6 separate regions of the Homo sapiens genome follow, and regions 1, 2, 4, 5 and 6 are each linked to region 3. Evidence: promoter capture Hi-C in 16 types of primary human blood cells and fetal thymus (Javierre and others, 2016). All regions are on one chromosome and are shown on one strand. The core of a region is centred on a gene start or on the middle of the fragment in contact, and the rest is flanking DNA. Distances in the headings are between cores, read along the strand shown.

Region 1 (4,706 bases), core at 1,554-4,053, 350 kb before region 3:
TTTAAGTTGAGATTTTAAAGACCTAAAGGCCATCCAGGATCTATATTCACATTACTCAGGCATATTCTGCTTTTCTCTACCCATACCATAATGGTATTATGCCCTGTGAAATAAGGATAGATTTCTGGTTCCCTACAGTTATTTCTTTCCTAAATGTAGGATTAAGTTGTTAACTTAATTAAAATTTTCTATTAAAATCTAAGATAAAAATACAATCTAAGGTGAGAACTAGTCTTTTTTACTTTTTAGATATTATCAATGTAGTATATTAAAGGTAACATCTTGACAGCCCAATTTGGGTTTTCACATATGGCTAACAAAATGGTAACTGTGAAGTCTTAACATGTTAGGTTATCTATTGCTTAAACTATGTAAGTAGGTCTGAAATGTTTTAGATACTCCAGAAAGAAGACAATATGCCCACCTTTTAATTTTTTTATAGTGACACTTTAAGAAACAAAAAAACCCTAAAATGTAGAAAGGCCAGAAACATTAAAAACTATGTATCTATTGGAATTGCATATAATAGTAGCTCAAGTTCCAGTCATTCTCCCAAACCCCATTGCCTCTGGTCTTTGAGTTATTCTGGGTTCTACAGGAAATCTTATTTCTGTGGAGGTCTCCCCTTTCACGTATGACGTTTTGAGGTTTTGTTGCCTATTGTTCCCATCTGTTTTTTATCTTCCAGAAACTTCTCATGGTCTGGTCTATTTGTGGCATCCCTGCTAGCTTCCAGTATTGCTGTGGATTTCTCCTTATTGTTACCATTTCTGTGCTCAACTTCATGGCAGACCTTTTCTTTTTTTTTAAGTCATTACTTTAATCACCCAAAATTACATATTAATGATATTTTTTCCTCTGAGATTCCATGTAATTTCTTTTAACATGGAGGGTTGCATCTTCATGGGACTTACTAAGTTGAATGATTTTTGAATTATTCAGTTAATTATGTTATCTTTTTTTCAATTGTCATATATTATCCTTACCCCTATGCATCTCAAACATCATATATTAATTATCCTTATTTCCTGTGCTCAAAGGAAATAGCAGGGCTGTTTACCTATACTAATTTATTGGCTACTTTTTTAAGTCTTAAAAATAATTTCATCCCAAGCCTAGAATTAGGAAAGTAAAATATGGTTTGTGTTGTTTTTGTGTTTTTAATGTCTGGCATTTGGAATAGGAGAAAGCTGGGTTTAAATTCTAGCTCTTCCATTTGATTGTGGTTACTTTGGGCAAATAACTTTATTCCCATTTTGCATATGAGATTATTTGAGTACAAAGCTTTTAGAGTGTGAGAATTAAATAAGATAAAGAATGTAAACTACCAGACACATAGTAGGTGCTCTGCAAATAACTATTGTTAATAAACTATAGAAGAACTGTGAGATTCCAAACATTTCATATTGAACAGTTAAATATGTGTATCTTCTTTTGGCCTCCCAGTAAGGAAAGGAAAAAGCTGCCAGTCTCTTGGGGGCCAAGACTTAAGAGAACATGTATTCTTTTTTTCTTTCTCTTTAGTGACTGAAATAGAGAAATTATATAAACAAATGCTGGGGAACAGCTCTGGTACCAGTGGCCATTTGCCACAAGCTCTTCAAGCTGGACTTTCTCTGCCATAAAAGGCTTGGGACCAAGATCTAGAATAGTCAGATATTTTTAAAGGGACAAAGGTTATTTTTTAACTTCTTTCAGCCTAGGGAACTTGTTGTTTTCCCAGATTGCTCCTCTACCTATCTGAAAAAGAATCTCAAAAGGAATGGTTTCCTTCTACTTGTCACAGCCTACTAGAGTCATGGGCCAAGTCTGATCTTGCAAATGGTGCCATTACTTTAGCAATGTGGCACAACATGCAGAATTCAGAAGAAAGTTGTAGAAATTGAATGTTGGTAACATATACTGATTGATCATTTAACAGAAGAGTAAAAAGAGTGTCTTAACTACATATTTTGTATTTATACAGAAGATGATAAAGAGCCAGAACTTTAGATTAGATAAGAAATGACCAGTAACAAAAGACATACTAGTAGAATGTATATGAAGAATAAACTAAAGAGTCAGCTTTGTTGGAAATCTGGAATGATTCCTGAAAGCAAGAAATGGATGTACATGATCTTTAAGATATTATTTTCTATATCCTGTTTATTAGACAAAATAATTATCCAGTCACAAGGCCTTAAGACACACCTGTTTTTTAATGTATTTTGAATCTTGATTGAAATTTCTTAATTCCCTTCTTGGTACTCCCTCTTAGATTGCTACCTGTTCTGATGACAATACACTAAAAATCTGGCGCTTGAATAGAGGCTTAGAGGAGAAACCAGGAGGTGATAAACTTTCCACGGTGGGTTGGGCCTCTCAGAAGAAAAAAGAGTCAAGACCTGGCCTAGGTAAGGATATCATATACTTTCCAAGTTTTTTATGGTTTGACTAGTTTAGTCCGACAGTACAGAGTAATAAGCTAGATTTGATCTTGCTTTGGTATGTTTTTAAAGAAAAGCACTATCTTCTTGCCATTCATTCTTTTTGATAAGTATTTCCCAAGCACTACTATGTTTATCATTTACACAAGGTACTACAGTGGTGGATTTATTCAACAAATATTTCTTGAACACCCAGTATGTGCTGGGCCCTGTTCTTAGTTGCTAGGGATTCAGCAATGAACAAAAGAATAAAAAATCCTGAAGATGTAAATAGAGCTAACATATTAGTGTGAGAGGCAATAAACAAGATAAAAAAGTAAAATATATACTGTGTCAAATAACAATAAGGGCTTAGGAATAAAGGAAATAGGAAAGGGAGAAGGGCAAGGGTGAAATATGCTATCAAAATTTTATATTAGGTGACCAGGGGGGCCTCAATGAAAAGATGGCATTTGAGTAAAGAAAGTGAAGTAGTAAGCCATATAGATATTTTAAAGAAGAATATTCCAGGCAGATAAAAGTACACAGGCCCTAAAGCAGGAGCATGCTTGGCATATTTTCTCTTCCTCAGAGAGGCTAGCATGGCTGGCCCCTAGGGCTGCAGCAGGCAAAGGAAAGGGAGGGAATAGTAGTAGAAAATGAAATTCTGTGAGACTTTGGCTTTTATTTTGATAGACAAAAGTCCACCAGAGGGTTTGGAGCAGAAGAGTATCATAATTTGACTTTTAACTTGATCATTCTTGCTCCTGTGTTGAGGATAAATTGTAAGGGGGTCAGGGTAAAAGCAAAAAGCTACTTTTAAAAAGCCATTGAGATAATCCAGGAAGTGATGATGGTGACTTAGACCAGAGTAGTAGCAGAAGCTATGGTGAGAAGTCATCCAATTTTGGATATATTTACAAGACAGAGCCAACAGAATATGTTGAGGGATCAGATGTGGGGCTATATGGGAGAGTTATCAAGGATAACTTCAGAGATTTTGCTTAAGAAGCTGAAAAGATGGAGTGTCATTAACCTAGATAAATATCCCTGCAGGAAGAGCAAGTTTGGGAGGGAACAGCTGGAGTTCCATTTGGACATGTTGTTTGATATGATTATTAAACACCCAAATGGACATGTCAGGGAGGCATTTCGATGTTTAATTCTGCAGTTCAGGGTTGAAGTTGCAGATGTGAGGTTCATTATCACACAGGGTGAAGATAGCTATAGATAGAAAAAAATAGGCCTGGTGTCTTGGGGTACCCCGATGTTTAGAGGTTGAGGAGGTGACAAATACCATTAAAGCCTACTGAGCAGCCACAACCAGAGAAGTAAGAGAAAAACTGGGAGAGTGTTACATCCTGGAAGCCAAGTAAATAAGAGGAGAGAGGGATGAACTTGATTTGATGTTTCTGGTATACCAAATAAGGTGAGGCCTAAAAACTGACCAATGGATTAGGCAATCATAGGGGTTATTTGGTGACCTTAATGAGTGTTGTTTTGGTGGTATGATGGTGGCCTGATTGGTGTCATTCATGTATATGACTTGGGGACTACAAGTATAGACAGTTCTTTCAAGGAGTTTTGTTATAAAGGAAAGAAGAGAAGTGAAGTGGTAGCTGGAGAAAGAAGCAGGGTTGAAGTTTGCTGGGGTTTTTTTAAATAGGAATATAACATTTCACAGTGATTGGCAGGATCGTATAGAGAGGGGGAGATTGATGCAGGGGAATTTGCTGGAGCAATGTTAAGCATGAGGGGATACTATCTGATACACAGTAGGAGGGTAGGCCTTTGCCAGGAACATGGATAGTTGACCCATAGTAATTGGAGAAAAGGTGGAATATATAAGCATGGTGCAGGTAGGCTACTGAGAGATGGTGGGGAGAGAGGTGGAGAGATGAGATGGCCATAACTTACAGAAGCTTCCTTCTGTTCTGATGTTAAAACATGAATCAGGGTTATTAACTGCGAATGAGGATAAGGGAGAAAGGGAGTAGAGATTTTAGAAGAGATAAGAAAGTCTGAAATTGTCACTGAGAGAATAGAGGAATAAATGGACAGGAAAATATGATTGTTGGGCTTCAAGAGTCAACTTGAGGCTAGCAATAATTAATTGAAAGTGAGCACTCCACATGGTTGTGTGTTTGCTATGCAAGTACAAGTATACTATAGGTAGAGAGCTAGATTTAACCAGGGATGTGGTTTAGCAATGCAAGTGAAGAAGGAAGTTGACAGTGGATGCAAAGAGGATGATTATGACTATAAGATATAACCTTGGTAAGGAGGCATATTAGTCCATTT
Region 2 (4,737 bases), core at 566-3,065, 340 kb before region 3:
GGTACCAGTTCTTCTTTGAATGTCTGATAGAATTCAGCAGTGAATCCATCTGGTCCTGGACTTTTTCTTCTTGGCAATTTTTTTATTACCATTTCAATCTAAGTGCTTGTTATTGGTCTGTTCAGAGTTCTTATTTCTTCCTGGTTTAATCTAGGAGGTTGTATATTTCCAGGAATTTATCCATCTCCTCTAGGTTTTCTAGTTTGTGAGCACAAATGTGTTCATAGTAGCCTTGAATGATCTTTTGTATTTCTGTGGTATTCGTTGTTAATATTTCCTGTTTCATTTCTAATTGAACTTATTTGGATCTTCTCTCTTCTTTTCTTGGTTAATCTCACTAATGGGCTATCAATTTTGTTTATCTTTTCAAAGAACCAGCTTTTTGTTTCATTTATCTTTTGTATTTTGTTGTTGTTGTTTCATTTTTATTAAGTTCTACTCTGGTCTTTGTTATATCTTTCCTCCTCCTGGGTTTGGGTTTGGTTTGTTCTTATTTCTCTAGTTCTTGAGGTGTGACCTTAGATTGTCAATTTGTGCTCTTTCAGACTTTTTGATGTAGGCACTTAATGCTGTGAACTTTCCTCTTAGCACTGCTTTTGCTGTATCTTAGAGGTTTTGTTAGGTTGTGTCACTTTTTTCATTCAGTTCAAAGAATTTTTTTAATTTCCAGCTTGATTTTGATTTCATTATTGACCCAAAGATCATTCAGGAGCGGATTATTTAATGTTGCATGGTTCTAAGAATTCCCTTTGGAGTTGACTTCCAATTTTATTCCACTATGGTCTGAGAGAGTACTTGATATAATTTTGATTTTCTTAAATTTATTGAGACTTGTTTTGTGGCCTATCATATGGTCTCTATCTTGGAGAATGTTCCATGAATGTTCTGATGAATAGAATGTATATTCTGCAGTTGTTGGGTAGAATGTTCTGTAAATACCTGTTAAGTCCATTTGTTCTAGGGTATAAGTCCATTGTTTCTATGTTGACTTACTGTATTGAAGTCCCCCACTATGAGATGAGATTCTATTTTTGTGTATTTCAAGGTTTTGCTCTAAGATTTAGAACTCCTTTTAGCAGTTTTTGTAAACTATGCTGGCTTGGTAGTGGCAAATTCTCTCAGCGTTTGAAAAAGACTTTCATCTTTTCTTCATTTATGAAGCTTAGTTTCACTGGATACAAAATTCTTGGCTGATAATTATTTTGTCAGCTAATAATTATTTAATAAGGCTAAAGATAAGACCTTTATCCCCTCTAGCTTGTAGAGTATCTGCTGTTAATCTGATAGGTTTTTCCTTTACAGGTTACCTGATGCTTTTGCCTCCCAGCTCTTAAGATTTTTTCCTTCATCTTGACTTTAGATAGCCTGATGACTGTGTGTCTAGGTGATGATCTTTTTGTGATGAATTTCCTGGGTGTTCTTTGAGCTTCTTGTATTTGGATGTCTAGATCTCGAGCAAGGCCAGAGAAGTTTTTATTCTTTTGCCTTTGTCTTTGTTGAATTGGGTTAATTCAAGAGCCTTGTCTTTGAGCTCCAAAATTCTTTCTTCTACTTGTTTGGTTCTATTGTTAAAACTTTCCAGTGTATTTTGCATTTCTCTAAATGTGTCTTTCATTTCCAGAAGTCATGATTGTTTTTTATTTATGATATCTATTTCTCTGGAGATTTTTTTCGTCTACATCCTGTTTTGTTTTATTTTTAAATTTAAGTTGGTTTTCATCTTTCTCTGGTGCTTCCTTGAGTAGCTTAATAATTGACCTTCTAAATTCTTTTCTGGCAATTCAAAGATTTATTATTGGTTTGGATCCATTGCTGGTAAGCTAGTATAATCTTTTAGGGGTGGTTATAGAACCTTGTTTTGTCATATTACCTGAATTGTTTTTCTGGTTCCTTCTCGTTTGGGTGGACTATGTCAGAAGAAAGATCTGGGACTCAATGTGTGCTGTTTAAATTCTTTTGTCCCACAGAGTGATCCCTTGGTGTGGTGCTCTCCCCCTTCCCTAGGGGTGGGGCTTTCTGAGAGCTGGACTGCAGTGATTGTTATTGCTCTTCTGGGTCGAGCCACCCAGCAGAGCTACTGGGTTCTAGGCTGGTACTGGAGAGTGTCTGCTAAGAGTCCTGTGATGTGATCTGTCTTCAGGTCTGTATGCCATGGATACTAGCACCTGCTCTAATGGAGGTGGTAGGAAAGGAGTGAAGTGGACTGTGTGAGAGTACTTGGTTGTAGTTTTATTTAGTGTACTGGTTGTCTTGAATGCTAGTTATACTAGCACTGAAGTTATTACATGGACAGACTCAGGACCTCTCTGGTTGGCCAAGATGTTACAGGCAGTAGAATTAGCTGTTATTTTCTGCTTTCTTGGAGCAGGGTTGTTCTGTTGAATTGCTGTAATGGCTTGAATTGGTTGGCCTCCAGCCAGGAGGTGGCACTTTCAAGAGAGTATCAACTGCAGTAGTATAGCGGGGGATATAAGCTTGCCTTACGGTTTCCTGGATAGGTTTTCGGGCTTCTCAGGCAATGAGCAGGGCCCCACGAGTTTTTGTCTTTTGTTTACGGCTACCAGGGCGGTTAGAGAAAGACCATCTGGTGGGGGCAGGGATAGTGTGTCTGAGCTCAGACTCCTTGGGCAGGGCTTGCTGTGGCCTCTGGGCGATGGGAGTGGTGGTTAACAGGCCAATGGAGTTACGTTCTAAGGGAGATTATGGCTGCCTCTGCTGCTTCATACACATCACCAGGGAAATAGGGGAAAGCCGGCAGTGACAGACCACAGCCAGCAAGGCCAGTCTCACTCCTGCAGTGCTTCCCCAACAGCCAACAGAACCAAATTTATATCCATGCCTCCAGTGCACAGGGTGGAGATCTTGCCCTAGACTACAAAACTCCCCGCCGAGAAAGCAAGCAGGGCTGTTAGGCCTTGTCCATCTGCCTGCCACAGCTTCTGTGCTCATATCTGCACTTCCTATTTGTCCCATCCCCCTGCAGATTCTGCCCAGGAAAATTCACGCTCAGTTGAAATCATTACAAAGTTCAGCTGAAAGTCTCCTTCTCCCTATGGTCCTTCCCCAATTCCATTGGCTGCCCTCTCCAAAGACCCCTGTGAGATAGTCAGAAATGGTTTCCCTGGGGACCAGGAGTGCCTACAGGGCTCTTCCTGCTGCTGCTTCTACTTTTATATTTTGTTTGGCTCTCTAAATTCATTTCAGTTCTCCTTCTCCCATGATCTGGATCCTCAGTGAGGATGTGTGCAGAAGTGGACTTTACCCCTCTCACACTGTTTTTTGTTTGTTTGTTTGTTTGTTTGTTTGTTTTGAAACGGAGTCTCGCTGTCAGGCAGGCTGGAGTGCAGTGCATGCGATCTTGGCTCACTGCAACTTCCACCTCCCAGGTTCAAGCAACTCTTCTGCCTCAGCCTCCTGAGTAGCTGGGACTACAGGTGCACACCACCATGCCTGGCTAATTTTTGTATTTTTAGTAGAGACAGGGTTTCACCATGTTGGCCAGGCTAGTGTTGAACTCCTGACCTCAAGTGATCCACCCACCTCGGCCTCCCATAGTGCTGGGATTACAGGCATGAGCCACCACACCCAGCCACCCTCTCACACTTTGGACCTTGAGAGCTTGTTTGGAGGTTCTAGCAGGGGAGCACATTTACTCGTATACCCTTGACTGAAGACCGATTCTCCTCTTATCAGGAATGGTTGTCCTCTTCGACCAAGCACACAGCTTCGGGAGCCCTCTCACACTTTGGGCACTCAATTTTTCTGCTGTCTTGTGGATTTTGCAGCAGCAAGCCACTTCTTTCAAAGGATCTGTTAATTCTTTTGTTTTTTCTGGTATGTTCCTGTGATAGTTCTTGGAGCCAAAGTTCACTATGTGAGTCTCCACATGCTGTTCTGTCTGTCTGAGTGGCAAATTAGTCCTGCCTCCTATCTGCCACTTTCCCCTTAAATCAGTCTCATTTTTGTAAAGAAAAAAGTTGAGATGTATAGTATGTATCACATGCACAAATATAGAAAGTATGCTAAACATGGTTTACGTAAGTGCTTTAAATTTTTTCTCTTTATGTTTTTCGGTATTTTGTCGATTTTTACAAGTATATATTTTATAATGGGATAGTTGGGAGGTTGGTGACTTGGAAAAGAGAAAGGAAAATGATAAAAGGGTGTGGTTGGAATCAAGTGATGTATACCTACTTACTGGCAAATTGACCCTTAGATGATTAGGTTAGCTATGATTTTTCTTGATGAGAATTTAGGGACTTTGTATGGCTTTCACTTCTGATCTTCATGATCCTCTCCTCTTTTTCAGTAACAGTAACGAGTAGCCAGAGTACTCCTGCCAAAGCCCCCAGGGCAAAGTGCAATCCATCCAATTCTTCCCCGTCATCCGCAGCTTGTGCCCCAAGCTGTGCTGGAGACCTCCCTCTTCCTTCAAATACTCCTACGTTCTCTATTAAAACCTCTCCTGCCAAGGCCCGGTCTCCCATCAACAGAAGAGGCTCTGTCTCCTCCGTCTCTCCCAAGCCACCTTCATCTTTCAAGATGTCGATTAGAAACTGGGTGACCCGAACACCTTCCTCATCACCACCCATCACTCCACCTGCTTCGGAGACCAAGATCATGTCTCCGAGAAAAGCCCTTATTCCTGTGAGCCAGAAGTCATCCCAAGCAGAGGCTTGCTCTGAGTCTAGAAATAGAGTAAAGAGGAGGCTAGACTCAAGCTGTCTGGAGAGTGTG
Region 3 (5,001 bases), core at 1,056-3,555:
ATACATTCCAGACTATTCACATAATGTTACTCAGGCCACAAAAGACTTAGACACCCACATCTCTGCCATTGACACGCTGTCAGTTGACCCCATATCAGCTTGGTTCTAACAACTGCCTAGTCCTTGGGAAACTTTTTTTGTTTAGCATGCTTGGGATAATTCTATTCATTCTGTTTTGTGCTGTGGAATATACTGCATTGTACTTTTTATGTAGGAATAAGAGTTAAGCTTATTCAATGCTTCTTTAAATTTAACACGTTAATTTTCTAGATTTCACCTTTTTCTGGGACTTAGAATTATGTATGATTGGTCCTCACTATACAGATGCTTTCTGACTGGCTAGCTCTCTACTTTGGGCAAAGGGATCCTAATGGTTAGGCAGGAATATCATCGCTTCTGTTCAGCTTGAAGTTACTGAAGATGGATCTCTGTCCCCCTGCACCCCTTAGGATTAAAGGTCTCCTTGTAAAAAGGAGGAGGGAATTATGTCAGAAGTGTCCTAACCAGAGTGATTCCATCTTGAATAAAGGTCAGATAAAGCCAAACCTGCTGGGCGACTTTCCCAGGAAGATAGGCACTCTTCACAAGATGTTTATGGTTGAGGAAATGAGATAATGGAAAAAGGCATTCTTAGTTTAAAAATGAGTTTCACTTTAAAGATAACAGTACACCCATAAATTCTCCCTGAAGTCAATAGTTACACAAGAGAATAACAATACTAATAGTCTGTAACAAGCTGATCATAGGCTTTTGTAATGAAGTACGCTAGTTTTAGCCCTATAAAAGCAAGCATTACATTGAAGGCAGAGGTGCTCCTATATAAACAATACTTGCTTAGTACTACTTCAAAGCAAGGATACTACTCAGAAACACAGTAGTACTATTATTAGAAATGGAGTAGTTTCTAATGAACTATTTTAACTACTATGCTCTGCGACTTGCCCTGATTCTTTGCCGTGGACGTCTAAGAACCTGCTCTTGGGTCTGGAATGAGACCCTTTTTCTGTTAATTCCTCTATTCCAGTCTTGAAAGTAAAAGCCAGTCTTGAAAATAACCTGTGAAGCCCCCAAGATCCACCCCCACTCCCTTACCCGCTTCCTTCCTGACTTCACCTACCCCTCTTACCTTCCCTTGATCCTCCAGCAAGCCGGGCATCCTCATTCCTCCGCATTTATGCACCTGATCCTTTGACCAAAGTGCTCTTCCCTCTAGACCGCCTCCTTCGCCTCCTGTAGATTTTTATGCAAATACCCTGTTCTCAGTGAGGCCTTCCCTAACCTGCCTATTTAAAATGACCATCCCCATAACCGGGCACCGTTCCTCACACCTGTAATCCCAGCACTTTGGGTGGATGAGGTGGATGGTTCACTTGAGGCCAGGAGTTCGAGACCAGCCTGGCCAGCATATAGTGAAACCTCATCTCGACTAAAAATTAAAAAAAAAAAAAATTAGCCAGGCGTGGTGGTGGGTGCCTGTAATCCCAACTACTCTGGTGGCTGAGGCAGGAGAATCACTTGAACCCGGAAGGTGGAGGTTGCAGTGGGCCGAGATGGCGCCACTGCACTCCAGCGTAGGCGACAGACTCCGTCTCAAAAATAAATAAATACATAACAATAAAATAAAATAAAATGTCCATCCCAGTGCTCCCTATCTCTTTGCCCTACTTTTTCTCCCTAGTATTTACCACCATCTAACATACTACTTAGCATCTTATTGTCTATCTGCCCACACAATGTAAGCTTCACGTGGGCGTGGATCTGTCTTGTTCAGTGGTGAGTCCCCAGTGACCTGGTACATGGAGGTACTCAAAAATATTTGTTGCATAAAGTAATGAGCAAAGTTTGGCACAAATGTTAGCTATTATTATTTCAGGGCGTATCGGTAACAGCACCCTACCCTTTGCAAAAATCTCCTTGGGAACCAGAAACTTAAACACAACCAGGAAGAAAAAAAATCAGCCAAAAATAAAAGCGAATTAAGACAGTTGGGGTCTTATTTTAGAAATATACCTTTCTAGGTTCTGGTATGTTGGGCTCTGTCATCTTTCTACCTGATCAAGGAACCACTGTGACATTTTTTGGTAACTTCCAGTCTGTAGTTTGGATTTAGGAGTTCAGGATTCCAATCCTAATTTCCAGGTTCCAGCTGCGTGGCCCGAGTAGCCCGGCCAGCCCCACCCCGGGGCGCAGGAGGCGCGCGAAGGGCGGGAGTTCTCGGGTCCCCGCCCTCGGGGAGGCTCTGGGCGCGGGGCGGGACTCCGGGACGCTGGGCGGGCGTGCTAGGGCCCCGCCGCCCTGGCCCGGCCTTGCCTTGCGCTGCGCGCTCACCATGGTGGGCCCCGCGCCGCGGCGGCGGCTGCGGCCGCTGGCAGCGCTGGCCCTGGTCCTGGCGCTGGCCCCGGGGCTGCCCACAGCCCGGGCCGGGCAGACACCGCGCCCTGCCGAGCGGGGGCCCCCAGTGCGGCTTTTCACCGAGGAGGAGCTGGCCCGCTATGGCGGGGAGGAGGTAGGCGGGGGTGTCGCGGGCCGAGGGACCCGGGGTGGCGTCCGATCTGCGGCGAGCCGAGCGGGGACCCAGGAGGCGCCGGCGGCCCAGGAAGCTCTGGGGGACGCGCGGCCCGCGGCGGGCGCCCTGGGCCGGCGGGGGGCCTCCTCTCTCTAGGCCCCGAAGGATGGCCGAGGGGTGAGGACGAGTCCTCAACAGTCGGAGCGCTCCGCTTTGCCCGCACACCCCACCCTGAACTTCTCCCTCGGTCCCCGGGAGATTTCCCCTCTAGCCGCCTTTTCGTTGATGATCTGCGTACAGACCTCAGAACTTTTTGGTTTTCATGTTAGCATCAGCCGAGGCGTTTACTGTGCCCACGCATAGTGGGGAGTGGCGGGGGACGGAGGGAGGGAAGCAGAGCCTGCTCCCTGGGTTAGGTGGGAATTGAGACAGGTCCTGGGATAAGCCAGTCTTTGCCTGCACTTCCTTTTCCTGCCCCTGTATCCCAGGCCTCTGCATCGGACTCCTCAAACCCACTTTTAGGTCATGTACCCCTGGGGCTCAGCCAAAGCTGGAAGTGAGCGCAGAGGGTGGACTGGAGGTTAGAGACCCCCACAACCCCCCCGCCACACGTCAATAGAGACCCCCCCGCCCACACACACCCACACACGTCAATAGTCTAGAGGCGTCCAGAAAACTCACAACCACCTGCCCACCTGGGTTGGTTGGGACTGGAGCCGCACGACAAGGACCAACAGGGGGCTGATATTAGATGTGGAGCGGGGGAACGGCATTGGGGGGAGGTCATAGTACCATAGTATTTCAGAGCTGGCAGGAACCCATCTCCTGCTTTTACACATAAGGAAACTGAGGCCTGCCACCTGTTAGTGGTAGAGCAGGAAGAGGCCTGATGTTTTTCAAAACCCTCTGGCCTGGTCTCGCTAATTCCTGAGTTAATTGGCCTTATATGGACTAGGATTGCATGGGGGTATCAGAAACCTGGCCCTTAGTCAGTGATGCCAGTTTGGGCATCATTTGTGAAGGGGCCATTTAGAACCATGAGTCAGTGAGGACACCGAGGGAGGGAGACATGGCTGGGATGTGAGGATGTTAAGGGATGCCTTTTTGCCGGTAGCAGAGGGAACCAGATGGTTCAGAGTCCAGGCATCCGTGCAGAAAAGAATTAACATGGCAGGCCTGCTCTCCTTAGAAAAGCCTACTTGCAAGGGTGGGACTTGTCTAGTGTCTGGATTTCTCACCCTTCCCTACCCAATAACGGTGGACTCACTTGCCTAGGCCGTATATACAGATGGTGTGGTTAGTATTGAACACTGTATATGCTAGGCAGAGGGTGCCCCATGTGACCAGCCCCCAGTGAAAACCTTGGGTGCTGAGTCTAATGGGCATCTCTAGCAGAGGAATGTTCTGCCAGAAGAATGGCACATACTGTCAAGTTTTGTTGCTGGGGGAAGAGTGTGCTCTTCCTCATGGGAGGGAGAGAGCATAGGAAACCTGCACATAGATTCCCCTAGATTCTCCCTCTGTGTTTTTCCTTCCCAGCTGTGAGTAGAACTATATGCTGGGTTCTTGGAATCTTCCTTCTAGGGACTCTCCAACTGACCCGATGATCTTTGGGACCACTGGCACAAGAATCTAAGGAAAGAGAGAGTTCACCACTGAGGTTACAGCAAGAGTGCCAGAACTGCAAGATGAGGACTGAGAAAAGACCCTTGGTTTTTTGATGTTGATGTTATAGATTGAAATTTAACTGAGAGAGAGAGGACCTTGAGATGGAAACAGGGGTAGGAAACAATTGTTTTGGGAGTGGAGCCTGAGGATCTCTGTAGGTGGAAGGAAGGAGCCAGAGAGAGGAGGGGAGCGAGGGACGAGAGAGGCAGTTGAGTGCAGTGGGTTCAAGCTGTGCTGCGCTGTTGTTTGACCTAGATTGTTCTGGTCTATGCCTGTTATCCAGGGATAATTATTAATAACACCCTTTCACTCAGAAGTGTGACAATTTGTATAATACATTGGATCATACCTGGTTTTGAGTCCCTGTTCTGCTGTGTGATTTGGGGCAAATTACTAAACCTCTCTGAGTCTCCACTTTGTTCGTAAGATACTTGGATTAGTCCAGGTTTCACCAGGGAACAGAACCATTTGGATATCTATATCTATACAGTTGATCCTTGAGCAACACAGGAGTTCGGGGTACTGACCCCCATGCAGTCAAAAGTCTGCATATAACTTTTTTTTCTTTTAGAGGCAGGGTCTTGCTGTGTCGCCCAGAATGGAGTGAGTGGCTTTTCACAGGCAGTCATGGTGCACTAGAGCCTGGCAATCCTGGGCCCAAGCGATCCTCCTGCCGCAGCCTCCCAAGCCGCTAGTATTACAGGTGTGCACCCAGCCATGTATAACTTTTGACTACCCCCAAAACTACAGTTTTTTTCCTTTTTTTTTTTTTTTTTTGAGACAGGGTCTCACTCTATTGCTAAGCCTGGAGTGCAGTGGCAGGAACA
Region 4 (4,644 bases), core at 1,575-4,074, 420 kb before region 3:
TGGAGGTTGCTGTGACCCGAGATTGCGCCACTGTACTCCAGCCTGGATGACAAGAGCAAAACTCCATCTCAAAAAAAAAAAAAAAAAAAAAAAAGCTGAAGAGGAGGGTATGCAAATACTATTTTTTAAATTTTAAAAAAATTTATCCTCTCCCTCCCCCTCCCCCTCCCCCTCTCCCCACGGTCTCCCTCTGATGCCGAGCGGAGGCTGGACTGTGCTGCCGCCATCTCGGCTCACTGCAACCTCCCTGCCTGATTCTCCTGCCTCAGCCTGCCAAGTGCCTGGGATTGCAGGTGCGCCGCCACGCCTGACTGGTTTTTGTATTTTTTGGTGGAGACGGGGTTTCGCCGTGTTGGCCGGGCTGGTCTCCAGCTCCTGACCGCGAGTGATCTGCCCGCCTGGGCCTCCCGAGGTGCCGGGATTGCAGACGGAGTCTCGCTCACTCAGTGCTCAATCTTGCCCAGGCTGGAGTGCAGTGGTGTGATCTCCGCTCGCTATAACCTCCACCTCCCAGCCGCCTGCCTTGGCCTCCCAAAGTGCAGCCTGTGCCCGGCCGCCACCCCGTCTGGGAAGTGAGGAGCGTCTCTAACCGGCCACCCCATCTGAGAAGTGAGGAGCCCTTCCGCCTGGCAGCCGCCCCATCTGGGAGGTGAGGAGCGCCTCCGCCCGGCAGCCGCCCCATCCGGGAGGTGGGGGGCGGCCCCCGCCCGGGCAGCCGCCCCGTCCGGGAGGGAGGTGGGGGGCAGCCCCTGCCCGGGAAGTGTGGGAAGTGAGGAGCCCCTCTGCCCAGCCGCCACCCCGTCTGGGAGGTGTACCCAACAGCTCATTGAGAACAGGCCATGACGACGATGGGGGTTTTGTCGAATAGAAAAGGGGGAAATGTGGGGAAAAGAAAGAAAGATCAGATTGTTACTGTGTCTGTGTAGAAAGAAGTAGACATAGGAGACTCCATTTTGTTCTGTACTAAGAAAAATTCTTCTGCCTTGGGATGCTGTTAATCTATAACCTTACCCCCAACCCCCTGCTCTCTGAAACATGTGCTATGTCCACTCAGGGTTAAATGGATTAAGGGCGGTGCAAGATGTGTTTTGTTAAACAGATGCTTGAAGGCAGCATACTCGTTAAGAGTCATCACCACTCCCTAATCTCAAGTACCCAGGGACACAAACACTGAGGAAGGCCGCAGGGTCCTCTGCCTAGGAAAACCACAGACCCTTGTTCACATGTTTATCTGCTGACCTTCCCTCCACTATTGTCCTATGACCCTGCCAAATCCCTCTCTCCGAGAAACACCCAAGAATGATCAATAAATACTAAAAAAAAAAAAAAAAAAAAAAAAAAAAAAAAAGTTAACTTTTCAGGATTCAAAAAATTTATTATTCACCTGGTTATAAAACTGGAACTTGCTCATGCCAAGATATAGAGATATAGAGAAATTTATAAAAAGAAAATAAAAATTATATACCATCTTACCAAGATTTTGATATATATCCTTCTAGTCTTTTTTTCTATTGCATAAATACAAATATTACGGCTTTTATTTTTTTTAAACAAATCTGTTACATTATATAAGCTATTGGGGTTTTTTAAAACAAACCTGTTATATTACATAACCTATTATGTAACCTGCTTCCAAATATGTTTCTAAAAACATTGGTTTTAAGTTGTTACCGTATTCTATTGTATGATCATAATTTATCTAAGCTCAATGGAAGAAATTTAGGTTGCTTCTCATTTCTTTTGTTGTTACAAGTAACACTACAACCAGCATCCATACAAATAATTATCAGTACATATTGCTGTTATCTTAGGATAAATTCTAGAAGTGAATTTCCTGGGTCAAAGGGATGTACTTGTTTAAGGCTTTTCATACATATTACCAAAATGCACCCCAGAAGGCAATGCTACTTTTCCTGTCAGTCAGGGAGATACTGTATTTTCTTTTACAGAAGAGAAGCCAATCAAACATAGTAATAAAACCATGGTCAACATTTAATCCTCCTGCCCAAAACAAAATACTGTTCTGTAAAACAACAGTGTAGGACATGACATTCTGAATAGGTTAAAATTGGTTTTAATTCAAGTTATTGTCTTTGCCAAACTGTGGACAGCTCTAATGCAAAACAAATTAACATTAGAAGACAGTAAGTAAGCAATTTAGTATTACAGATCTATATGTCTGGGAGAAGCTCCTCAGTCAACAAAGCTTCTGCTACCCAATGAAGCCTTCTCCAACTAATCTATGCTGATCCTGTCCTTCTGGAAACTCATTTCATTTACACAATTAATGCCAACATTTGTACTTACATTTTCCATTTTATGAATTTAAGTCTTGTTTCCCCAACATAAGGTAAACCTTCTTGGAAAACACACCTTGTAATTTACACTTTCCTGTATCTCTCAGTGTTTATATAAGTTGATCAGTTTTTCCTTCAAAAATTTTTCTTGGGAAGCCAAATTACTAAAAGGGATGTACTTTTGTAAGCTTACTTTGACTGTGCAGAGAAGTTTGCAGCAGCAAAAACAGCAGCTTCAACTTCTACATTATCATGTGAATCTAAACTCTGACGAATACTATGATGAGCATTCTTCCTCTCAGGAATTATTGATGCCAGACTTCCCAACATCCTACAGAAACAGAGAAACCCAAGAAGATCGGGCATAAAATAAAGTCAAGGTCAGAAAAGTAAGAGGCAAGGCAAAGTCAGATTATCAAAACTAAAGTTTATAGGTAATTCTATGTAACTCCAGTTAATAAAGCATAACTTTAGAAATCCATGACTCAAATTTTAAACGCTTTTACATATTTCAATATGTCAGAAAAATTAAAATGGCTTATCTAAAAAGCAAAATTTTTAACAATCACCTTGAAGTACCTCCCAGGTACCAAACAGCCCAGGAAGGAAACTTCTGAATTATTAAAGCATCAAAATATCAATTTTCCAATGTTGCATAAAGAAGTCCATTTCAGCAAAGCATTAAGAATACAACATTTTTGCTGTTAAGCAGATACACAAAGTAAAAAAAAGTAAGAGCTCCCAATCTTTTTTTCCCACATCAGTAAATATTGGTATGATGATTTTCAAATGTCCTCAAGATCAAGAAAGCAGTGGTTGAGGACGCCCCTGGGGCTCACACCAGAATCAACAACGGTGCAGAAGGTAAAGCTTGGAAAACACAGTCTACTTTATAATAAAATCATACATTTAGAAAGGAAAAAAATCTATTGTTTGTGGTATAAACTACAGAAAGTAGTTTGAAAAATCCTTTCAGCAGAAAGGCATACATTTTAGAAATTTGCAAAACACTGCAGTAAACAAAACCTACAATGTTCCTACAATGACAACCTTCTTCAAAGTCAACATCCTAAATAACCTTCCAATGTGACATGTAATCACCTAATTATTCCCTGTAATTACACTCAAAGTAGTACTGTTCCTAGTACTGTTAAAAATAAGTAATACTGTTAGTAGCAAGAAACTAAAATGGACTAAATATGTAATTTATATTTAATTTGAAGGTTTTGGAATTATACATCTTTCAAAAGAAATAACAAATGACTATTAATCTATTATACCAGAAAAGATTAGACTAGGCTAATACTGACACATTTAATGACTTATTCCCACTGCTTCCGGCTTAATTTTTCTCTTCCTACTTGAGTACCTCCTTCTAGAATGTTTACAAAACAGGTCCTATATGGCAAACCTCCTAAGGCCTTGTGTGCCTGAGAATCTTTTTATTTTACTACTCTTTTAAATGAAAACTGGATTAGATATAAAATTCTTGGCTCAATTTTCCTTTAATACTTATTGCATCAAGTGTTACTGTAGAAAAATCTGATTTCAATCTAATTTTTTTTTCCTTTAAAGTGATCCTTCTTTTTGGAAGCTTTCTAGAGATCGCTGGCTTTATTGATAACCACAGTGCTTAAAAAAAGAATTGAGGCAAAAGTCAATTGCCATGACTTAGAGAAGGGCAAGCATGGAAAATGATTAACATTCAAATATTAATCTACATTCTTATCAAAATATTCAGGCTAGCTCTAAATTATTTATGAAATTCATTCCACCAGTTAAATTCTATTCTTTTCTATTATCTTTTGATTAAAAAAAAAAAACCATGTTTGTGAAAACCAATTCAAACATTACCAAAAAAAGCCAAATGGAAAAGCCTCTTGTAATCTACAACCCAAAGACTCTACCAAAAATAATCACTGTTAACAGTATATATTCCTCTAGATTTTTTTCTGAGCCTATATAAACATATATATTAATATCAACTAGCAAAATGAGTTAACAAAATGGATACTATTTGACTACTTTTTAAAACAATATCTTTCTATGTCAGTATATATAGACTCACAACTCACTTTACTCTTTAAAAGTTATACAGTAGTTCACCAATAGCTATTCCCATGTCGATTTTTCCCCAATTTTTCATTCTACAAAAATGATACTATAATCATCTATATACATATATTCACCAACTTTTAAAAATGATTCATTTAAAAAATTCCTATAGGTATATTTGCTGAAGTAAAGGGTAAAAATACCTTAAATTTAAATTCTGGGACAGGTGCAGTGGCTCACGCCTGTAATCCCAACAATATGGGAGGCCGAAGCGGGCAGATCACCTGAGGTC
Region 5 (4,941 bases), core at 892-3,391, 270 kb after region 3:
TTTTTTATGTGTCTTGAAAGCTGTTAGCTATATGTAAGATTTAACCAAATTCAGTCAAATCCCTCAATAGTGATCATGAAACAGGCAGGCGGAAAAATGCACTGACCATGGTAAAAACACTTCAATCAGCTATAGAAAACATGAAAAAGGAGAGCAGTATTTGCTTTCTAGAACCCCATGAGAAGACACCACCAAGCGGGAAAAATACCACACTTACAGAGTTTAAGAGCCAAGAGGTACAAACAAGGAAAACTACTCAGTTATTAATATTCACGGAATGCAAATATTAATAACACAAAAAAGGATATTTTCAGTTATCATTTGATCTCATCTTGTATTCCACATAAGACACACATCTTCCCAAGTTACTGCAGGTAAGAAGTTTCAGATATGCAAGAATATAAAGGCATAAAAAGGAGAGGAATAAATAACATACATAGCAAATAGAAGCTTAAGGGAACAAAGTATGATAATACAGTCTTCTAGAGAGGCAAAGAAGTCTTGATAAACAAAACCAGAACATTACAGGGGAACATGTGGTTAGAAGACAGCTCTTTAGCTTTAGAATCACACAGATCCTAGTTTTGTCTCTTAGTGTCAACATGGTCTTGTGTAAATGGTTTAAATTCTCTAAATTTTCAGTTTTCTCATTTATTGTAAGCATAATTCATTCATTCTTTCAATATGTATTAACTGAGCACCTACCATGTGCCAGACACTGTTCTAGACACTGGGGATACAAGCCCTAAACAAAGGGTCAGTGAACTCTGCAGACTTGGTGCTAACAGCCTAATGCTTAGGATTGGGATGCGATGAAATGAGATTTTGTCCTAAAGCTCCCAGCATACAGTATGCCCTCAAGAAGTTACCTGCCTTTGTTGAAGTTGCTACTTTAAAAAAAAATGTATTCTGCATAGTGCTTCTCATGCCTCTTTGCTCTCTGTAATCAAAAAGTCACTAGCACAAGAAAGCAGCCTGCATACTGCCCTCGGGGAGCTGACTCTAAACTGGACTCATCACCATGATCACACCTGCCAACCCAGCAGAAACATTTAATCAAGACAGAAAGAGGTGAGCGAAAGTTAGAGATAGTATTATGTTATTAACCATATCTGATTCAGTCTCAAAAATCCTGAGAGGTTGATGTTACTATATTCATTTTACAGATGGGGAAATGGACGGTCCGAGAGGTTAAACAAATTGCTCAAGGCTGCTCAGCCTGTGTGTGGCAAAGCCCAGGCCCAAACTCAGATCTCTGTGACACTCCAGCGACACCTGATGACATGGGCCGGGCGCTGAATTGGGAAGGTGGGGAGTAAGGATGAAAAGACCCAGTCTTCGTCGTAAGGCAGGTGGCCAAGACCCAGGCAAAGTTTCCAGACGGCCGTCCCTGTGGCCAACCTGGTCTCCTTCCTGACTGCGCCGCTGTAAACGTTGCTAGGGGACAGCGAACTGGGAAGGGGCAAAGGGTTTCCACCAGCTGGGGGCGGAGTCGGCCCTTTGTGGGTTCCCTCCGCCCAGGCTGACTAGTCCGGCGTTCTCCATTCCCGCGGCAGCACCCCCCCCACCCGGGGGAATCCTGGAGGGGCTACAGGCGCGGGTGGTGGGGTGGCAGTCGCTGGCTGCGCCAGGATGGGGCGGCCCTCAGGGCAGTGCGGAGCCCACGTGCCGGGGAGCACCGGCCATGCCCGGCCCAGCCAGGCGTCGGCGCCCTCGGGCTTCTTCCCCCAGAGGGCGCAGGAGCTGGCTCAGGAGCCATTCCAGGAGCCGCGGACACTGTGCGCACGACAGGGTCCCTGGATCGCCCCCATTCCCCAACATCCCTACGCCCCTACCTCTGCTTGTCTCCGGCCGCACCCGCCACCTCTGCACCTCCGCAGTCACCACCACGGAACTCCAGCACCCACCTCCTCGCCCCCCGCGGCGCGCCGGTCCCCGCACCCCACGGCCCTCCCTGAGCCTCTCGCCCTCTACCTGCTGCTGCGGCTGCGGCTGCGGCTGGTTCCCGGGCGCCGCGACGCTCCTCTGCAGGACGCTGCCGGCGGCCGGGAGCCCTTGCGACATGCCGGGCGCTCCTCTGGCCCGGCCCGCCCCGCCCCGCCCGCGCGCCCTGCCCGTGGGGCTGCCTACGGGCGCTGTCCCGCCGCCGGCATCCTCGTGCCGCACCCACGGCCTCGCGCCGGCCCCGCCCCCTCAGGCTTCCCGCTCTCCCCGCTACTCCACGCGTCGGCCCAGTGTCCCCGCGCGCCAGTCCCGGCAGCCGTCCTTCCCGTCCCACGTCTGCCCCGCCCTCCTTCTCCCACCCCCGCCTCGTTTCCTCCTCTGCCCGCCCTCTCTCCGCACCTCGGGGTCCCAAATCCCACCCCTGCCGCGGCTTTCCGCCGGCGCCCCGCGCTTCGTGGAAGTCACGTGGTGGCTCTGAAACCCCGGAGGGAACGCGAAGCCCACCCACGCGAGGCGACGCCCGGGGGGGTGGGGACCAGGGGGGCGCCATGCAGCCTTTGGGGTCCTTCGGCGGCTGCCGGGGAACTCAGGTTGAGAAACACAGTGGGTGTTTTGGGGTCGGTGTTTTTTCCCGGTCCCATCGCGGCATCTTCCTGCGCCTCAGCCACGCCCTGCGTCCGCCCCCCGGCGCGGGGGTCACAGTCCCGGGGGACTTTCTCCGCGGCGATCAGTCATCCGGGCGCCACTCTCGCTCCTCCAGCGGCCCCGAAGCCGCGGCTCTGGGGTGAAGACGCCGGCTTCACCGAGTCCCACCGCGCACCCCGAGCCACGGGCGCCCCAGGGACTCTGCAGGGAGTGCCTGCCCTTCCCGTCTCGGGTCCGCCGGGCTGTGGGAGGGAACGAGGCGGGGCGGCCCCGAGGGTGAATTCCCGGAGCGGAGGGTGGGCATGGGGAGGATGTCCCGGACAAAAACGGTGACGGGCTTCCCTGAGAGCGAATCTGCCACGTGGGACGTCACTAGTGACAGGTTTGGGGATCTGGACCCGCCATGCCACGGTTAAACGGCCCAGATCATTTTTCTTTTTCAAGATTTATCTGCTCGTGCCAAGCTGGGGACCGGGTTGAGGTAGGGCAAGTCCCTGTCCACCTGCCTGCCAGTCAAAAGATGCGAAGCCAAGACAATTACCCGTGGTCCTAGCGAAGGAAACACTAGCGGCCACAGGCTGTGGTCTGCATGCTGTGAGCACCGGGAAAGATAACCGCGATTCGGGATGGGCGGGTGGGAACCAGACCAGAAGGGCAGAAGTGCCTACCAAGTGTGGTCGCTTGGGTCTTCAGGTTTGTGGGCAGCAGTGGGCATGGGGACAGTCATTTCCGATTCCTTTTTAAGTCTTAAATGAGTGCACGTGCCCCCCGCCAGGATTTAAGACCCACTCTTGCAAAAGCTTTGAGAGAGCTTGAGTGAACTTGGCTGCCTGGAGGCCAGCGGGAAAGCGAGCGGAGATTCTTGTCTGTGTGATCAGAAGCTTCGGCCAACTGAGAGGCGGGGAGGAAGACGGAGGGTGGACGCAGCCCTTTAGAGTTGCAGCGCCACACTCCACAGCAGCAAGGCTGCGCAGCAGAGCCAGCGCTACGCTGGGTTATCTGCCCGGATTAATCTTTTCCTCTCCGTTATTTCATCACTCAGCTTAACTGGTGGTTGCCCCAGGACTATTTTGCATCCCACAAGGTACCCACACAAGGTGCCTAGCATAGCACGCTACATACACTCAACAGGTGCTCAGTATATGTATTGCACTAGGTCAGCTGAAAGCTCTCATTCCTGAAGCACTAAAAGGGCTCTAACGAGCTAGGAAAACATCTGGGTCAAGGGGTTATCATTTTCAGAAGTGATTTCATTCCCCAGTGTTTTTTATGCACAGAAAAGGCAAGGTAGAAACACCTCGGGAACATTCCCGTGCACTCCTACACTTTATTCTGGTCATGCCCACTTTTCTCACTGAACCACATCACATTTTAAGTCCTTTGGGGCTGCTGCTTCCCTGTCTCTCCCCAGGGAGCCTGAAACCATGTCCCAGCACACACGAACTCTTTATATAGGCATAGTCTACTGTCTTGTGTTACGCAAGGGTTTCTTCAAATACATTTAGTCTTGGTTAACTAGGTAGCATTTAGGGCAGAGATCAATTTGATGTAAAGATCATACATCAAAATGAATGGATTAAATAGCTAGATACAGAAATGAAAATCAGAGAGCTAAAGCAGAATTAAATTCTTATTTAAGTCATGGAAGCATAGGCAACATAGTGAGACCCCCAACTCTACCAAAAATTAAAAGAAATCAACTAGCTGAGTGTGGTGGTGCACACCTGTAGTCCCAGCTACTCAGGACGCTGAGGCAGGAGGATCACTTAAGCTCAGGAGTTTGAGGCTGCAATGAGCTATGATTGCACCACTGCACTCCAGCCTCCAGGGCAACAGAGCAAGACCTTATCTCAAATAAATAAAATAAAGTTGTGGAGATAAGATAAGGAAAGGATCTTATAAGAATACATGTAATAGGAGAAATTGACTTGATAAGATCTGAACTATATAAAAGGGCTAAATTGTTTTAGATGACAGTATAACCAGGAATGTAAAACAAACAGATTGGATAAATACAGTGCATATGAGAAAGGGTTAATATACAGCCCACGAAAAAGAAGAAGAAGAATATTGAGACAACCCGCAAAGGTAAATTGCAGAAGGGATATGAAATGGCATTTCCCAGCAGAAGAAATAATCAAGGAAAATAGGTATAGGAAAATATATATTAAAATAAGAACCCTTTTTAAGTTAGCAAAATAAAAAGTAATATCAAATGCTGGGGAGAGTATGGTGAAATTGGTACTCACATGTTTCACTGGCTTCATTGTAAATTGGCACAAACCTGCTGGAAAGCAGTTTTACTGTCACTTTCAAGAACCATAAAAGAGTCATCACTTTTGACTCAATTTT
Region 6 (4,340 bases), core at 1,353-3,852, 350 kb after region 3:
AATTTCAATTTTAACCACTCACTATAACTTTCATTTTTTTCATTTTTGAACCAGTGTGTTCAAAACACAGTATAGTATGACTATACTATGTCATAGTACAACTTAGAAGAGTAAAGTCTTACAAGAGACAAACAATACTAATTGAGGCAGGAAAGAAAAAGACAACAAAATGTCACTTATCTCCACGTAGAGCCTTATATTTTAATGTTTTTATTGTGGTAAAATATACTATAACATTTTAAAGGCAAATCATCTTACCAGAATTTCTTGTTTTGCTTTTATGGTTTTGATGACACATTCCAGGATCTTTCTGGGATACTGCTTACGTTTTGTGGCTATATCTACTATGATTTCATCAAACTGATCTTCAAGTACTTTGATGTCAGAATCTATTTGAGAAAAAAAAATGTATATATAAAAAGTTCCCTAAAACTCATTGTTTACATTCTGTATGGAAATGTGCTATAAACTAAATTTAGAAAACACAAAATAATGAAGGAAAACAAATATGGCAAGTTAATGAATGCCCCCACTTTGGTGATTAATTTATTTACGCATTGAACAATCAATTATTGAGCATCTATAAGAAGCCAGGCCTAAACAAGAGAAATACAAAGATGAGCACAACATGATTCCTACTCTCTAAGAGTTCACAGTTTGCTGAAAGAAACAGACAATTGCAAGGCAACCTGATAAGTGCAATAGAGGTATGAGCAAAATGCCATCAGGACACAGAACAATGGAAAACTGACTGACTGTGAAATATAAGACTTTAAAGAAGTAACATTTGAGCTTGAAATAGAAGTATAAGTCCAATGGATAAAAAGTGGTACGGGAAAAAAGGAATAGGGAGAAGCATTTTAGGCAGTGGAAACAGTATTTGCAAGATCCTAGTCTTTGGAGACCTGAGAAAAGTTCTAAATGGCTACAGAATAAAGTAAAGGAGAAATGGATGATAAAATATATAAGAACCAGGCTGTAAAGGGTATTTAATATCAGGGATGCTAAGAAGTTTTGACTTATTATGAACTGACCCAAAGCTATGACAGTAGCAGTGAGTGGAGTAACTAGATCTGAAATAGGACTCAACTGGATTGATGGTAGGAAAAACTGAAAGATACAGTGAGTTTAGAGTTTCTTTCATTTAGCTAACTCTACTTTATCATATGCTTTTTCATGTTTTAAAACAGTGATTCTCAAATGTTAGAAGAATCACCTAACGAGTATGTTAGGAGTACAGATTTTTTTTTTAATACTTTAAGTTCTAGGGTACATGTACACAATGTGCAGGTGTGTTACATATGTATACATGTGCCATGTCGGTGTGCTGCACCCATTAACTCGTCATTTACATTAGATATATCTCCTAATGCTATCCCTCCCCACTCCCCCGACCCCACAACAGGCTCCAGTGTGTGATGTTCCCCAACCTGTTTCCAAGTGTTCCCATTGTTCAATTCCCACCTATGAGTGAGAACATGCGGTGTTTGGTTTTCAGGAGTACAGAATTTTGATTCAGTAAGTCTGAGATGGGGCCCAGAAATGAAGCACCCTAGATGAAAGGAATGTAGGTGATCCATCTAACTTTATTTTGAAAATCATTTTAAAGAGTAAAAATACTAAGTAGTTACAAATACTAAAGAGCTAAGTTCTTAGCTTAACTGGTCCTCATATTGCTCTGTTGTGTCAAAGTCTAAGCTAGAAATGGACCTATTTATTTTATTGATCAGAAGCTTTATTAGGAAGAAATCTAACATCTGAAACATAATTTTTGAAACATTTTGAGAAATTGCTGATATGTTTCGGTATATACATATCAGATAATCAAGTATATCAGGTATAGTCTTTCATTCATGTCACAAATATTAATTGAATCCCACTAAATTAGTTCTTTTGAGGGCACCCTTTTTTTCCTTTTTCTCTTTCTTTCCTTCCTTCTTTCTTTCCCTTTCCTTCCCATTCATTCTCCCTCCCTTCCTTTCCTTCTTTTCTTTCCTTTCCTCCCTCCTTCTTTCCTAGATAGATAGATAGAGAGAGAGACACACACAGATTGATTTTCAATAGCTTTTGGGGTACAAGTGGTATTTGGTTACATGGATGAATAGTACAGTGGTGAAGTCTGAGATTTTAGTGCACTCATCACCCAGTAGTATACATTGTGAAAGTACCCTTCTTTTGAGGGCAAGAAATAATAGTTATTTCTTACTTTGAATAATTATTTATATAAGCAGCCCTCCCTAAATTTTCATTTATCCATTAAAAAAGTTAAATAATTAGCCTGAAGAAAATAATGTACTATTTCACAATTAGTTAAAAAAAAAAAAAAGAAAAGTCTCCCAGGTAAATCTTTTTTGTAGAGAGGAACATGCTTTCTTAGCACTACCTAGTGATAAAGCTACAATTAAAATGTATCACAAAATTTGAACAGAAGCCAGGCACAGGCCTGTAATCCCAACACTTTGGGAGGCCAAGGCAGGCAGATCACCTGAGTTTGAGAGTTCGAGACCAGCCTGGCCAACATGGTAAAACCCCATCTCTGTTAAAAATACAAAAATGAGCCAGGCGTGGTGGCAAGCACCTGTGATTCCAGCTACTTGGGAGGCTGAGGCATGAGAACTGCTTGAACCTAGGAGGTGGAGGTTGCAGTGAGCTGAGATCGCGCCACTGCACTCCAGCCTAGGTAAGAGTGAAACTCTGTCTAAAAAGAAAGAAAAGAAAAATTGAACAGGAAAGAATTATTCATTAATTTAACATATTTCATAGGTGCCTACTATGAGCCAAGAGTTGAGAACAAGGTCAGGAGCAGTGGCTCACATATGTAATACCAGCACTTTAGGAGATTGAGGCTAGGAGTTTGAGACCAGCCTGGGCAACATGATGAAACCCTGTCCTCTACCAAAAATACAAGTTAGCCAGGCGTGGTGGCCACATGCCTGTAATCCCAGCAACTAGGGAGGCTGAGGCACAAGAATCACTTTAACCTGGGAGACAGAGGTTGCAGTGAACTGAGACTGTGTCATTGCACTCCAGCTTGGGTGACAGTGAGACTTCATCTCAAAAAAAAAAAAAAAATTGTCTTTTTAAGGAACCTTCTACAAAGATGTAACCTCATCCTTTACACGGTACTTGTATAATTAATAATAACTTCACACTTTTAAGGGTACTTCACTATTCACTCTAGAGATCACTTACAAAAATACAACTTGCTTTGTAAATAATTACAGAAATTCCCTGGGCCTCTTTTGTCATCTGGAGATAGCTCTACAGTATTTTCCAATAAACTATTGACAAAGAAGACTATTGAAGTCATAATCTCAGTTCTTTATTACTCCCCTAGTAAACAACTTCTTGAAAATAAATGACACTAAATATGGAGATTAAAAAACAGCATTCAAAACAAAATTAGCTGCAAAAATAACCCAGAAATTAATAATGGAAGGAAAAAGTCACATACCCATAAAACAATTATCTGAAGCTTCCTGCCATGCTTGCCCATTAATGCTGATATTCTCTTGCACAGCTGATTCAAAAGTCTGCAATAAATTCACAGTAGTCAAGTCACTAAAAATAATTTTAAATACTAAATTCAAACGTTTTAGCAAAATAATACTTCCAGATTTGTGACAGAGGAAATAAAAGTAGCAGAATAGCTAATTAGTATATCTATTCTTTTCAATGAAGATTCCACTTCAATCATTGATTCTACCTACATTTTGGGTCTCATAGCCATTATGCTACCCAAGAGAAAATCTGATTTAAAATTTTGGAATATTCTTATAAACAAACAAAAAAAAGTACTCCTAGAATGAAAGAAAAAATAAAATCTAACAAATTTAGGCTCAGTTGAATCTCAGGGGTATAAGTACTATATATGCTGCTGAATGACTGTTGATGTTAACAAGAGGGAAAACATACATGCTTAAAAATAAAATTATATTTTATAAAGGGCTGTATTTTTGAGAGATGAACACTTATGTAGCGATGAAATGACATGAGATCTAAGATATGCTTTAAAATAGCAAACGTAGGCCAGGTGCAGTGGCTCACGCCTATAATCCCATCACTTTGGGAAGCCAAGGCAAGAGGATTGCTTGAGGCCAGTTCCAGACCAGCCTAGGCAACACACTGAGACAACCTTCTCTACTAAAAAATTTAAAAATTAGCCAGGCACAGTGGCACATGCCTGTAGTCCCGGCTACTTGAAAGGCTGAGGCTAGAGGATTACTTGAGCCCAGTGGTTTGAGAATACAGTGAGCTATGATTGCCACTGTACTCCAGCCTGGGAGACAGAGGGAGAAGCAACTGTAACAAAATTTTGACAACTGTTGAGTTTGGTGGTG

Evidence for each region. The method cuts DNA at HindIII sites, captures the fragments that hold promoters and counts their contacts. A CHiCAGO score of 5 or more calls a contact.
Region 1: a fragment that was not itself captured here is called in contact with the fragment with the promoter of NENF in region 3 in 2 of 17 cell types (naive CD8 T cells and activated CD4 T cells); the score reaches 6.5 in naive CD8 T cells.
Region 2: a contact is called between a fragment that was not itself captured here and the fragment with the promoter of NENF in region 3, in 1 of 17 cell types (naive B cells). The highest score is 5.9, in naive B cells.
Region 4: a fragment that was not itself captured here is called in contact with the fragment with the promoter of NENF in region 3 in 7 of 17 cell types (fetal thymus, total CD4 T cells, naive CD4 T cells and 4 more); the score reaches 7.6 in fetal thymus.
Region 5: a contact is called between the fragment with the promoter of BATF3 here and the fragment with the promoter of NENF in region 3, in 5 of 17 cell types (M1 macrophages, M2 macrophages, M0 macrophages and 2 more). The highest score is 8.8, in M1 macrophages.
Region 6: a fragment that was not itself captured here is called in contact with the fragment with the promoter of NENF in region 3 in 1 of 17 cell types (M2 macrophages); the score reaches 5.2 in M2 macrophages.

Annotation. Positions count from the first base shown.
Region 1 is chr1:212,078,358-212,083,063 of GRCh38, forward strand. It overlaps DTL (denticleless E3 ubiquitin protein ligase adapter), which reads left to right. Exons shown (of 15, transcript NM_016448.4): 13 at 2,258-2,393. Among named protein-coding and RNA genes, the nearest start is that of MIR3122, 3.1 kb to the left of the region's middle. RefSeq lists an enhancer at 3,852-4,021 and a cis regulatory region at 3,937. The HindIII fragment of the contact is 3,043 bases long and covers 1,283-4,325 here.
Region 2 is chr1:212,095,943-212,100,679 of GRCh38, forward strand. It overlaps DTL (denticleless E3 ubiquitin protein ligase adapter), which reads left to right. Exons shown (of 15, transcript NM_016448.4): 14 at 4,310-4,737. It also overlaps the pseudogene RN7SKP98. Among named protein-coding and RNA genes, the nearest start is that of MIR3122, 21 kb to the left of the region's middle. The HindIII fragment of the contact is 1,313 bases long and covers 1,160-2,472 here.
Region 3 is chr1:212,430,615-212,435,615 of GRCh38, forward strand. NENF (neudesin neurotrophic factor) reads left to right here and starts at 2,306. Exons shown (of 4, transcript NM_013349.5): 1 at 2,306-2,506. The coding sequence starts at 2,330. It overlaps LOC105372906 (a long non-coding RNA gene), which reads right to left and starts at 2,203. Exons shown (of 3, transcript XR_922577.4): 1 at 2,011-2,203; 2 at 1,127-1,230. RefSeq lists a cis regulatory region at 381-668, a silencer at 2,092-2,651 and an enhancer at 2,812-2,901. The HindIII fragment of the contact is 20,197 bases long and covers 1,739-5,001 here.
Region 4 is chr1:212,014,396-212,019,039 of GRCh38, forward strand. INTS7 (integrator complex subunit 7) reads right to left here. Exons shown (of 20, transcript NM_015434.4): 4 at 2,491-2,628. Among named protein-coding and RNA genes, the nearest start is that of INTS7, 19 kb to the right of the region's middle. The HindIII fragment of the contact is 682 bases long and covers 2,484-3,165 here.
Region 5 is chr1:212,697,699-212,702,639 of GRCh38, forward strand. BATF3 (basic leucine zipper ATF-like transcription factor 3) reads right to left here and starts at 2,142. Exons shown (of 3, transcript NM_018664.3): 1 at 1,975-2,142. The coding sequence starts at 2,064. RefSeq lists silencers at 1,440-1,889, 2,080-2,159. The HindIII fragment of the contact is 2,939 bases long and covers 449-3,387 here.
Region 6 is chr1:212,784,105-212,788,444 of GRCh38, forward strand. NSL1 (NSL1 component of MIS12 kinetochore complex) reads right to left here. Exons shown (of 6, transcript NM_015471.4): 2 at 3,455-3,533; 3 at 259-389. Among named protein-coding and RNA genes, the nearest start is that of NSL1, 5.5 kb to the right of the region's middle. The HindIII fragment of the contact is 1,742 bases long and covers 1,732-3,473 here.